Linked DNA regions of Homo sapiens: region 2 is linked to region 1. Evidence: promoter capture Hi-C in 16 types of primary human blood cells and fetal thymus (Javierre and others, 2016). All regions are on one chromosome and are shown on one strand. The core of a region is centred on a gene start or on the middle of the fragment in contact, and the rest is flanking DNA. Distances in the headings are between cores, read along the strand shown.

Region 1 (6,496 bases), core at 1,441-3,940:
AGGGTGAGGGTGGTAGTGATGATGAAGTCACCTTTAGCTATTTATAGTTCTTCTTTTTTTTTGAGATGGAGTCTCCCTCTGTGGCTCAGGCTGGAGTGCAGTGGTGCGATCTCAGCTCACTGCAACCTCTGCCTCCTGGGTTCAAGTGATTCTCCTGCCTCAGCCTCCCAAGTAGCTGGGATTACAGGCACGCACCGCCATGCCTGACTAGTTTTTGTATTTTTAGTAGAGACTGGGTTTCACCATGTTGGCCAGGCTGGTCTTGAACTCCTGACCTCAAGTGATCCACCCACCTCGGCCTCCCAAAGTGCTGTGATTACAGGCATGAGCCACCACGCCCGGCCTATTTTATCTTCTAATTGCTTCCTTGGGTTGGGAGGGGATGGAGGAGGACAAAAGATGAGGGGTCTGGAGGCATAACTAGCCTGGGCAGAAGCCAACTGTGAGGGGATACCTTTTAGGGTCTCCACAGGATGGAAAAAGGACATGGTCAGGAAGAGTAAAGAGCTCAGAAGGGGACAAAGGAAGTTACAAAAGCCACTTCCTGGTGCGTGCCTGTAGTCCCAGCTACTCAGAGGCTGAGGTAGGAGGATCACTTGTGCCCAGGTGTTCAAGTCCAGCCTGGGCAACATAGTGAGACCCCCATCTCTAAAATAAAGAAAGAAATAATTTTTTAAAAAGCCAGCTAGGCACAGTGGCTCACGCCTATAATCCTAGCACTTTGGGAGGCTAAGACAGGAGGATTGCTTGAGCCCAGGTGTTTGAGACCAGCCTGGGAAACATAGTGAAACCCTGTCTCTACAAAACATATGAAAATTAGCTGGGCGTGGTGGCATGTACCAGCAGCCCTAGCTACCTGGGAGGCTGAGGTCGAAGGATTACCTGAGCCTGGGGAGGCTGAGGTTGCAGTGAGCCAAAATTGTGCCACTGCACTTCAGCACAGGCAACAGAGTGAGACCCTGTCTCAAATAAATAAATAAATAAATAAAGCCACTTCCTCAGGTAGCAGCAACAGGGTTGTGGTGGCTGCAGCAGAAGTGCTGCAGCAACTGGTTCCAGAATCTAAGCAGAAGGTGGAGGAAGATCATGCAGCTACTGAAGAAGGGCCTGGGGAAATGATAGGCTTTCCCCAAAGGGGCTTTCAAGCCTGTGGCCCTGCCCAGAGACTCCGCTGGAACAGTACAAATGGCACAGTCCAGATCCTATGTGGTATGTGCTCCCTTTGCAGGAAATCTCAAGTAGAAACCTCAGAGAGCCTGTAATCCCAGCACTTCGGGAGGCTGAGATGGATGGATCACGAGGTCAGGAGATCGAGACTATCCTGGCTAACACGGTGAAACCCCATCTCTACTAAAAATACAAAAAAAAATTTAGCCGGGCGTGTTGGTGGGCGCCTGTAGTCCCAGCTACTCGGGAGGCTGAGGCAGGAGAATGGCGTGAACCTGGGAGGTGGAGCTTGCAGTGAGCCGAGATTGCGCCACTGCACTCCAGCCTGGGCAACAGAGCGAGACTCCGTCTCAAAAAAAAAAAAAAAAAAGAAGAAGAAAAGAAACCTCAGAGAGCCTATATGTGCTTCTCAGGGAGACATCGATGTCTATCCCGCACAGCAGGTTGAACTGAGCATCTCAACAGCAAATGGAGGTTAAAAGGCAGATCCTGGCTGGGCGTGGTGGCTAGAGAATAACTCCTTAGAGACCAGATCCTGGCGGTGGCTCACGCCTGTAATTCCAACATTTTGCGAGGCCAATGTGGGTGGATCACCTGAGGTCAGGAGTTTGAGACCAGCCTGGCCAACGTGGTGAAACCCCGTCTCTACTAAAAATACAACAATTAGCCGGGCATGGTGGTGGACACCTGTAATCCCAGCTACTCAGTAGGCTGAGGCAGGAGAATTGCTTGAACCCAGGAGGTGGAGGTTGCAGTGAGCCGAGATCGCACCACTGCACTCCAGCCTGGGCAAAAAGAGCGAAACTCCATCTCAAAAAAAAAAAAAAAAAAATGCAGATCCAAGTGTTTGTCTTTTATTAAAACTGCCAGAGCTCAAGAGGAAAGAATAGGGAGTGAGGCAGACAGAATAATTGTCAAGTCTTCCCCACATCATTCCTTTGTAGGAGGTACTGGGTTTAGTTAATTTGGTCCCTTAACCTGCCAAGATCTAGCCCTTACCGAGAAAAGACCAACCTATCCAGGAACTTTAAAAGAGCAGTTCCACTGTGAAGACTTCCCTTTTTGTCCCCAAATATAGCACTTTAAGCCCTCCCTGCTCCAAATACACCCACAGGTCTCTCCACTCTGCCCTGGATTGGCTCTGTGTGGCCCTCAGGGCATGTTCCCCAGACTCTCTCTCTCTGACTGAATTCCTATCCAATACTTGCTGTCTACTTCCTGTCTCCCTCTCAGTCTTCAGTTTCTCCCTAAGTGCTTCTTTGGATCTCAGGCTCTAGGTGCAATGTGAAGGGGAGTCCCTGGGCAGACTGATCCCTGGCTCAGACAGTTCAGTGGGAGAATCCCAAAGGCCTTTTCCCTCCTTCCTGAGCCTCCGGGCAAGGAGGGAGGGATCTTGGTTCCAGGGTCTCAGTACCCCCTGTGCCATTTGAGCTGCTTGCGCTCATCATCTCTATTAATAACCAACTTCCCTCCCCCACTGCCAGTGCTGCCCCCACGCCTGCCCAGCTCGTGTTCTCCGGTCACAGCAGCTCAGTCCTCCAAAGCTGCTGGACCCCAGGGAGAGCTGACCACTGCCCGAGCAGCCGGTAAGTCTCCAGCTCTATCGTTAGAAAGGCTGGAGCCCACTGTGTTGACTTCTGTGTCTGTGTCTACAATTGTGATTCTTGATCCTGGGGGAGTCTCCCCTCTCCTCATCTATGCTCAGCTCCCAGCTGTCCAGTTGGAAGGAGAGGGGAAGGAGAGTTGGAAGGAGAGGGGCCCAGGAGGTTGGGGGGAATGGAGATGTCGGGGGAGGCACTGGAAGAATGGGAAGGGAGACCCCACTAAGTCAGTAGAGTTGCAGATGTATTTTTTGAGACAGGACTTAGAAGAGGACAGCATTTCACTGAGTGCCAACTTCTCTTAAGAAGGGATTGGAGTCCATCTTATCCCAGTTTGTCCCTTTCCATTGCCAGATCCTATTACTATGTTTCTGCCCCACCTCAATTCCCCACTGCTATGATATTGCTGAATTGACGTGTCGGGATTTGAATGCTCCCTACCCTTCCCAGTTCCACACCTGCCTCCACTCTGGGGTCTGTGGCGGGAGTGATTGCAGGAGCAGGGCCATGACTTCCCAGGCCATGTTCCAGCTGGCCTGATGAAGGAGCAACAACCTCTCCTTCCTATGGAGAGTGTTTTTGGCTGAATCTCCTCAACCCTGGCAGAATATTTCTCTGTCCTCCTGGGGACTGGGGGAAGACTGAGGAGAGACCAGAGCCTGGAATCACAGCCCCAGTCTGATATCCCAGTGCAAATAAAAACTTCAAATCATGCCAAGCCAATGAAACCTGGGTGCATTGCCCTGCTTGTGTTATTGTTTTTTAAACACTCCCCACACCTAGCTATGTTCCTAATTCCTGCACTGACTCTATGAAAAACAGCTCACAACAGGTTGGTAGACAACAGGGGCTGGTGTGCATCTATACTTCCTGTCCTGTATCCCAAGAAAAGAGAAGCCCTAAAGCGCAAGTTTTCACCTTTTGGGGAAATACATGCTTCTTTGAAAATCTGGGTCAGGTGAAGTGGCTCACCCCTGTAATCTCAGCACTTTGGGAGGCAGGAGGACTGCTTGAGCCCAGGAGTTTGAGACCAGCCTGGGCAACATGGCAAAACCACATTTCTACAAAAAATACAAAAATTAGCCAGGCACGGTGGTGCGCACCTATAGTCCCAGCTACTTGGGAGGCTGAAGTTGGAGGATCACCTGAGCCCAGGGAGGTTGAGGCTGCAGTGAGGCATGATTGTGCCATTGCACTCCAGCCTGGGCGACAGAGTGAGATCCTGTCTCTAAAAAAGAAAAAAAAATTTTTTTGTCCCCTCAAGCCCTTAAACCCAGGTTAAGAAGTGCTGCTCTCCTACAGACACTCACTCTTCCCAGTCCCTGTCCATCCACCAACTCCTCCTTCCCACCCTGTCCAGGCTGAATCCACCTCCACAATGCCGCTCTCAGGAACCCCGGCCCCTAATAAGAAGAGGAAATCCAGCAAGCTGATCATGGAACTCACTGGAGGTAGGACATGTTTGCATCTCCCTAGTGTGGGACTTCTTAAGAGCATCCCTAAACCAAGAGTCCCAGAAATATATATCTTAGGGTGAACAAACAAGAGAAATTAAGTGGTGGGAAGGCGGGTGATGGGGAGTGGGAGAGGGAAGATTAAGAAGGGTAAGGAGAAAGAGAGAAAAGATTCAACACCTTCTACCCTTTTCACTTCATAATCTGAGACAATACCCTGCCATGTTACCTGCACAGGTCCAGGACCACAGGACCCATGAGTCAGTGAGGTATATTTGAGGAAGAAAATATAATGGAGACTGGCACAGACTCAGGTCTCAATAAGTGGTTAATTTCCCTTACTTCTTTCCCCAGAGCTAGGGAGCTTGTGTAAGTACTTAAAATGGAAAACTGCACAGGCATGTTTCCTGGGGGTGGGCAGGGGTGCATGCATGTGAAGAGCTCTTCAATACCTAGAGACTCTTTGGAGCCAGAGCTCACTGAGGGAAAGAAAAGGGAAAGTAGTTAAGACAGAAGTCTGGGCCAGGTGCAGTGGCTCACGCCTGTAATCCCAGAACTTTGGGAGGCCAAGGCTGGTGGATCGCTTGAACTCAGGGGTTTGAGACTGGCCTAGGCACATGGTAAAACCTCGTCTCTACAAAAAGTACAAAAATTAGCCAGGTGTAGTGGCATGTGCCTAGAGTCCCAGCTACTCCAGAGGCTGAGGTGGGACGATCGCTTGAACCCGGGAGGTGGAGGCTGCCGTGAGCCATGATTGCGACGCTACCCTCCAGCCTGGGTGACAGAGTTCATCCTAAGATATATTTATTTTGTCTCAAAATAAATAATACAAATAGGGCTGGGGCTGTGTCTCATACCTGTAATCGCAGCACTTTGGGAGGCTGAGGTGAGAGGACCACTTGAGCCCAGGAGTTCAAGACCAGCCTGGACAACATAATGAGACCTCATTTCCATTAAAAAAAAAAAAAAAAAAAAAGTCCAGGCGTGGTGGCTCATGCCTGTAATCCCAGCACTTTGGGAGGCTGAGGTGGGCCAATCATCTGAGGTCAGAAGTTCAAGACCAGCCCGGCCAACATGGTGAAACCCTGTCTCTACAAAAATAGAAAAATTAACTGGGCATGGTGCCGGGTGCCTGTAATCCCGGCTACTTGGGAGACTGAGGGAGGAGAATCACTTGAACCCAGGAGATGGAGGTTGCAGTGAGCTGCAATCGCGCCATTGCACTTCAGCCTGGGAGACAGAGCAAGTCTCTGACTCAATAAATAAATAAATAAATAAATAAATAAATAAATAAATAAATAAAATGTAGGCTGGGCGCCACGGCTCACGCCTGTCATCCCAGCATTTTGGGAGGCCGTGGCTGGTAGGTCAGTTGAGCTCAGGAGTTTGCGACCAGCCTGGCCAACATGGTGAAACCCCATCCCTACCAAAAAATATAAAAATCAGCCAGGGATGGTGGTGCAGGCCTGCAATCCCAGCGACCTGGGAGGCTGAGGCAGGAGAATTGCTTGAACCTGGGAGGCGGAGGCTGCAGTGAGCTGAGATCGCGCCATTCCACTCCAGCCTGGATGATAGAGCAGGACTCTGTCTCAAAAAAATGAAAAAAAAGAATAAAAAATAAAAACAAATATATATATATATATATATATGGCATCTGTATTTGGACTCCACACAAGATTGGCCTCTGGGTTTTTCCTGATGCCATGGTTTCTCCAATGGCCTCCATCTATGATGTTCCTTTACTCCTTTTGCTCTGTACCCCATGCCCGTACCTCTTTTACCCCATTGGCCTCTCCACTCTAGTATTCCCATTATCTCCACAGTGCACCCCAGTTCCCATGCATTCTCTCCAAGTCCCAGGAAATCAAAATCCCTCACAAACTAGACAGCATTTGTTCCCCTAAATGACCTCTGCCAGGACACACATACACACTTAGTTGTGGATGAGGTCTGCATTCTGAGCCCAGAAAACCCTACTTTCCTCTTTCCCTTGATTCTTCTTCTTTGCCTCCCTGAAAGGTGGACAGGAGAGCTCAGGCTTGAACCTGGGCAAAAAGATCAGTGTCCCAAGGGATGTGATGTTGGAGGAACTGTCGCTGCTTACCAACCGGGGCTCCAAGATGTTCAAACTGCGGCAGATGAGGGTGGAGAAGTTTATTTATGAGAACCACCCTGATGTTTTCTCTGACAGCTCAATGGTGAGTCTGGAACTTTATCACTATCTCAAAGCCTGGTGCCTGTTCTGACAGCTTGTTAGTAGGCCCTGAACCTCCA
Region 2 (6,326 bases), core at 3,617-6,116, 170 kb before region 1:
CCTCTTACCTACCCCACCCTGCCCTGCAGTCCTGTCCAAGAACAGCAAGCCTATCCATACCACCATCCTAAACCCACACGTCCACGTGATTGGGGAGGACGCAGCGTGCATCGCCTACATCCGCCTCACCCAGTACATCGACGGGCAGGGTCGGCCTCGCACCAGCCAGTCAGAAGAGACCCGGGTCTGGCACCGTCGGGATGGCAAGTGGCTCAATGTCCACTATCACTGCTCAGGGGCCCCTGCCGCACCGCTGCAGTGAGCTCAGCCACAGGTGCACCTGGTTGACGGGGGAGAGGGGCTGGAAGGGCCTGGGATAGGTGGGGTCAGAGGAAGAAGAGAAGGCTGGGAGGTGGTCCTGGGAGAGGAGGTGTGGGCCGTCCCAGAGGACTGGCAAAGCCTGGCAGAATGGTTGCAATAAGTTATGCTTGGAAATCAGACAGACTAGGGTCTGGCTCCGTGACTCCAAATTGGATGACCTCAGACAGGTTACTTCCCCTCCCTAAACTGTTTCCTTAGCTGTCAAAGAAAGGCAGAGAGTGGTGCCTACCTCATTTAATCATTGTGAGGATTAAGTAAGATACTATAAGTAAAGCACTTAGTTAGTGCTTAGCAAATGGGAGGCAGTTTTGTATTTAAGCATTAGCTTCACCCACTTTCCCCACCTTCTCAGGCCGACTTGGCCATGTGTTTAGCGTGCTAAAGTCGCTGGAACTCATCTGTGTGCTCATTGTCCTCTGTTCTGTTACCACATTCTGTCCTGTTTGACAGGGGCTTTAGGAGATTCCAGCCGGAGGTCCAACCTTCGCAGCCAGTGGCTCTGGAGGGCCTGAGTGACAGCGGCAGTCCTGTTTGTTTGAGGTTTAAAACAATTCAATTACAAAAGCGGCAGCAGCCAATGCACGCCCCTGCATGCAGCCCTCCCGCCCGCCCTTCGTGTCTGTCTCTGCTGTACCGAGGTGTTTTTTACATTTAAGAAAAAAAAAAAAGAAAAAAAGATTGTTTAAAAAAAAAAGGAATCCATACCATGATGCGTTTTAAAACCACCGACAGCCCTTGGGTTGGCAAGAAGGCAGGAGTATGTATGAGGTCCATCCTGGCATGAGCAGTGGCTCACCCACCGGCCTTGAAGAGGTGAGCTTGGCCTCTCTGGTCCCCATGGACTTAGGGGGACCAGGCAAGAACTCTGACAGAGCTTTGGGGGCCGTGATGTGATTGCAGCTCCTGAGGTGGCCTGCTTACCCCAGGTCTAGGAATGAACTTCTTTGGAACTTGCATAGGCGCCTAGAATGGGGCTGATGAGAACATCGTGACCATCAGACCTACTTGGGAGAGAACGCAGAGCTCCCAGCCTGCTGTGGAGGCAGCTGAGAAGTGGTGGCCTCAGGACTGAGAGCCCGGACGTTGCTGTACTGTCTTGTTTAGTGTAGAAGGGAAGAGAATTGGTGCTGCAGAAGTGTACCCGCCATGAAGCCGATGAGAAACCTCGTGTTAGTCTGACATGCACTCACTCATCCATTTCTATAGGATGCACAATGCATGTGGGCCCTAATATTGAGGCCTTATCCCTGCAGCTAGGAGGGGGAGGGGTTGTTGCTGCTTTGCTTCGTGTTTTCTTCTAACCTGGCAAGGAGAGAGCCAGGCCCTGGTCAGGGCTCCCGTGCCGCCTTTGGCGGTTCTGTTTCTGTGCTGATCTGGACCATCTTTGTCTTGCCTTTTCACGGTAGTGGTCCCCATGCTGACCCTCATCTGGGCCTGGGCCCTCTGCCAAGTGCCCCTGTGGGATGGGAGGAGTGAGGCAGTGGGAGAAGAGGTGGTGGTCGTTTCTATGCATTCAGGCTGCCTTTGGGGCTGCCTCCCTTCTTATTCTTCCTTGCTGCACGTCCATCTCTTTTCCTGTCTTTGAGATTGACCTGACTGCTCTGGCAAGAAGAAGAGGTGTCCTTACAGAGGCCTCTTTACTGACCAACTGAAGTATAGACTTACTGCTGGACAATCTGCATGGGCATCACCCCTCCCCGCATGTAACCCAAAAGAGGTGTCCAGAGCCAAGGCTTCTACCTTCATTGTCCCTCTCTGTGCTCAAGGAGTTCCATTCCAGGAGGAAGAGATCTATACCCTAAGCAGATAGCAAAGAAGATAATGGAGGAGCAATTGGTCATGGCCTTGGTTTCCCTCAAAACAACGCTGCAGATTTATCTGCACAAACATCTCCACTTTTGGGGGAAAGGTGGGTAGATTCCAGTTCCCTGGACTACCTTCAGGAGGCACGAGAGCTGGGAGAAGAGGCAAAGCTACAGGTTTACTTGGGAGCCAGCTGAGAAGAGAGCAGACTCACAGGTGCTGGTGCTTGGATTTAGCCAGGCTCCTCCGAGCACCTCATGCATGTCCCAGCCCCTGGGCCCTAGCCCTTTCCTGCCCTGCAGTCTGCAGTGCCAGCACGCAAATCCCTTCACCACAGGGTTTCGTTTTGCTGGCTTGAAGACAAATGGTCTTAGAATTCATTGAGACCCATAGCTTCATATGGCTGCTCCAGCCCCACTTCTTAGCATTCTTACTCCTCTTCTGGGGCTAATGTCAGCATCTATAGACAATAGACTATTAAAAAATCACCTTTTAAACAAGAAACGGAAGGCATTTGATGCAGAATTTTTGCATGACAACATAGAAATAATTTAAAAATAGTGTTTGTTCTGAATGTTGGTAGACCCTTCATAGCTTTGTTACAATGAAACCTTGAACTGAAAATATTTAATAAAATAACCTTTAAACAGTCCATTGTGTTACTGCTGTTGGAGGTTTACGGCCAGAGGCGTAGATTTTAGCAGCCTGGCTTACCAGGTTGGAGAGAGTACCTCCTCCTACTCCCTTTGGGTACTTTTGAGAATAAAACTTCCTCATGCCTGTAATCCCAGTACTTTGGGAGGCCGACGCGGGCGAATCACGAGGTCAGGAGTTCGAGACCAGCCTGGCTAATATGGTGAAACCCCGTCTCTACTAAAAAATACAAAAAATTTAGCTGGGCATAGTGGCGGGCGCCTGTAATCCCAGCTGCTCGGAAGGCTGAGGCAGGAGAATCGCTTGAACCTGGGAGGGGGAGGTTGCAGTGAGCCGAGGTCGCGCCACTGCACTCCAGCCCAGGCGACAGAGTGAGACTCCGTCTCAAAAAAAAAAAAAAAAAAAAAAAAAAAAAAAAAAAACTTCTCATAAACAGCCTCCAAACAGCGCTCGGTGCTGCGCAGGCGACGCGGGGCGGGGAGGGAGGGTGAGTGCCCTGGGAGCCGGCTGAGGGCCTCGCCCCGCCCCTGGTCCCGCCTCCGGTTAGGCCGCTCCGCCTCTTACTCCTCCCCTCCCCCGAGTGGGCCGGCCCGGCTCCCCCTCCGCGGGGCTGAGTGGATGAGCCCAGGCCTGAGCCCGCCCCTGCTCCGAAGTCGTGGTCCCCGACGCTCGGCCGGCAGTGCCATCGCGCGGAGAGGAGGGGGTGCGCTTCCGCGGGCGGGGCGCGGAGCCCGCCGTCTCGGAGGCCGCGGCTCGGCCCGGCACTGCGGAGGGCCGCTTGATTTCCCGGAACCCAGGTCGCGCGGCTGCTAGGGCCGGAGCCGGTGGATCCGAGCGGGTGCCACCAGCGGCGGCGCGCCGCCTCCCCCGGTGGGAGCGGTGGTTGGGCCAGGCTGCGGCAGAGCGTTCGCTCGGAGATGGCGGAGCAGCCGCGACGCGGCCCGTGGCCCCGAAAGCAGGGAAGCCGGGCAGCCCCGGGACGCGGCGGAGCCCGGGGACAGCGGGGACGCCGCCCAGTCCTCCGGGTGAGCCGCCCCTGAGGAGACCCCCCCGCCCACGGTCGCGCTCAGGCCCCCCCAACAGACTCCCTTGGATGTTGCCACCATCACCACCCGCAGGGTCGTCCCGGGCGGCCCAGCGTGCGCCGCGCCCCGGGTCCTTTCCGCCGGCCTCCCTCAGAACCGCCTCGCTCCCCTCCGGACCGGGCGGGCTCCCTTCTTCCCGCAGGGCTCTCCCAGCCCAGAGGCTGTCTCGATGTCACCCCGGAGTCGCCGCCGCGCGCCTGTGGCCCCTTCCCCTTTGGTGTCCCACATCCGGTGCGCTCTTCGCATCCACCTGTGCCCCCGTCTCCTCTCGGCGGGGCCCCTCCACCCGCCAGCCCCGGGCCCCCTCGGCGCCCGCAGCCTCCGCGCCGCTGCTCCGGCCGTCCCGGCCTCCCCAAGCCCGGGCCCGGCCCCGGCCCCCGTCTGGCTTCGCCGTCCTCAGAGATCTCCCGCACACACCCACCCCGCCCAGCCCTGCTGGCCCTCAGTGTTCACTGGCCCGGCCTGCGGCGCTCCCGGCGCCCCTTCCCTAAACCTTGCTGCTTCTTCCAGGTATGAAGCTAAAATGCAGCGGCTAAGAACGCGGCTCTGGAGCTTGACAGGCCTGACGTCGAATCCCAGCCCTCCCACCAACTGAGCTGTGTGATCCTGGGCAAGGTTCTAAGCTTCTCTGAGTTACTCATATGTGAAATGGGGATAATGGAGCATGTACCTTTTCCCTACCTCTTAGGGCTGGTGTGAAGATTAAATATATGTGAAGCTCTTAGAAGAATGGCTGGCAAGTTGTAATTTCTCAAATACGGGATGATACACCCTGAGTATCAACTTCCCGTCAGTGACCTCCTCACTACAATGTTTTCTCTAAAGTTGCATCACATTCTTAGCATTCACCCCTTCCCGTCACCATTTTGATCCTCTCCCCCAGCTGTCTTCTCGTGTCGTTTTACCTAGGCCAAAGCTGAACTGTTTTATTTTTATTTTTATTTTTATTTTTTTTTGAGCTGGAGTCTAGCTCTGTCACCCAGGCTGGAGTACAGTGGCACAATCTCAGCTCACTGCAATTTCCGCCTCCCACGTTCAAGTGATTCTCCTGCCTCAGCCTCCTGAGTAGCTGGGACTACAGGCGCCCACCACCATGCCCATCTAATTTTTGTATTTTTAGTAGAGACGGGGCTTCACCATGTTGGCCAGGCTGGTCTCGAACTCCTGACCTCAAGTGATCACCCGCTTCGGCCTTTCACAGTGCTGGAATTACAGGCGTGAGGCACCACGCCTGTCCTGAACTGTTTTTAAATCATCTCTGTCAATTCTGAAGGACCTCAGCTCTGCCTTATCACCCCTGAGATGTGTGTTTGGGGGTGGGTGGTAGAGAGGGATTGCCAGCCTTACAAGGAGGCTGAGTGGGGATAGTGACAATAAAGCTTACAGAAGCAGTCGATTTAAGAAAAAGAACAGACTCAGGAGGCTGAGGCCGGAGGATTGTCTGTCTGACCCCAGGAGTTCAAGACCAGCCTGGGCAACGTAACAAGACCCCCATCTCTAAAAAAAATTAAAAATTAGTAGGGTGTGGTGGTGCAAAGCTGTAGTCCCAGCTACATGGGAGGCTGAGGTGGGAGGATCACTTGAGCCCAGGAGTTTGAAGCTGCAGTAGGCTATGATCACACTAGCACACTGTATCCTGGGTGACAGAGCAAGACTCCATCTAAAAATAATAAAAGAGATCCCCAAAATTAGACCTCCTTAAAACTGTTTTCTGATCACACTGTCCTTTTTCCTTCTGTCATTGGTTGGATGTGACTTAAGCTCCTGTTGCTCTCTGTCATCCAGTCCTTACTCAAGTTGTTCTGTTTGTGTAACTGGACTCAATACCTCATGTCTCTCCAGACTAGCTCAGGGACTCTTCTGAGCTGTTTAGGAATAGGGTTGTAGAACTACTTAGGCTAAGTTAGGAAGGAGAAGTAGAGTGGACTCAGCTGTATGGCTTTTCTCAGCACCCAGTGTGTGGCCTGCTCAGGGGTTACATTTTTATCTCCTGACTGGCAAAGTTGAGGTGAAGGTCAGGGGCAGGTAATGTTTCACAAGCAACGGGTAAGGGAGTCCCTAATTTCTGGGTTTGGAAACTGGTAGAATGATTACCTATCATGAGGATTGCTCTTTCCTTTTGAACTCCCCCACCATAGTGTCCACCTGACTGCAAGTTCGTTAAAGCTGTTGGCTGTGATATTGGGTTTGATTGATGAGAAGATTAACAGACTCATGAGTTCCTTATCTGATATTTTGTTGGAGCATGGGACTTCTGAAGACTTCCGGGGCTTTCCGTCCCTTCCTCACAGAAAGATCAGAGCTGTTGCTGGCTGCCAGCTGCTCGGTCATGGGCTAGGAACTCCTTTCAGAGCAGGCCTGTTTTTAGCCTTCTAGGATATTTAGCCTCTTGTTGATGGGAGATTTGTTCCTATCATTTGCATATACTGCTCCATCTCTGAGCTTTGCTTAGAGAGGAGAATT

Evidence for each region. Contacts are between HindIII fragments. The CHiCAGO score rates a contact against its expected background, and 5 or more counts as called.
Region 2: a contact is called between a fragment that was not itself captured here and the fragment with the promoter of MYOZ1 in region 1, in 1 of 17 cell types (fetal thymus). The highest score is 5.4, in fetal thymus.

The regions. Positions count from the first base shown.
Region 1 is chr10:73,637,668-73,644,163 of GRCh38, reverse strand. MYOZ1 (myozenin 1) reads left to right here and starts at 2,690. Exons shown (of 6, transcript NM_021245.4): 1 at 2,690-2,753; 2 at 4,129-4,219; 3 at 6,242-6,420. The coding sequence starts at 4,147. RefSeq lists an enhancer at 17-66. The HindIII fragment of the contact is 20,057 bases long and covers 1-6,496 here.
Region 2 is chr10:73,808,951-73,815,276 of GRCh38, reverse strand. NDST2 (N-deacetylase and N-sulfotransferase 2) reads left to right here and starts at 3,679. Exons shown (of 15, transcript NM_003635.4): 1 at 3,679-3,803; 2 at 4,374-4,478. NDST2-ZSWIM8-AS1 (NDST2-ZSWIM8-AS1 readthrough) reads left to right here and starts at 3,457. Exons shown (of 18, transcript NR_182658.1): 1 at 3,457-3,803; 2 at 4,374-4,478. CAMK2G (calcium/calmodulin dependent protein kinase II gamma) reads left to right here. Exons shown (of 23, transcript NM_001367534.1): 22 at 30-274; 23 at 772-2,776. The coding sequence ends at 262. RefSeq lists silencers at 333-586, 3,165-3,874, 4,175-4,244. The HindIII fragment of the contact is 756 bases long and covers 4,489-5,244 here.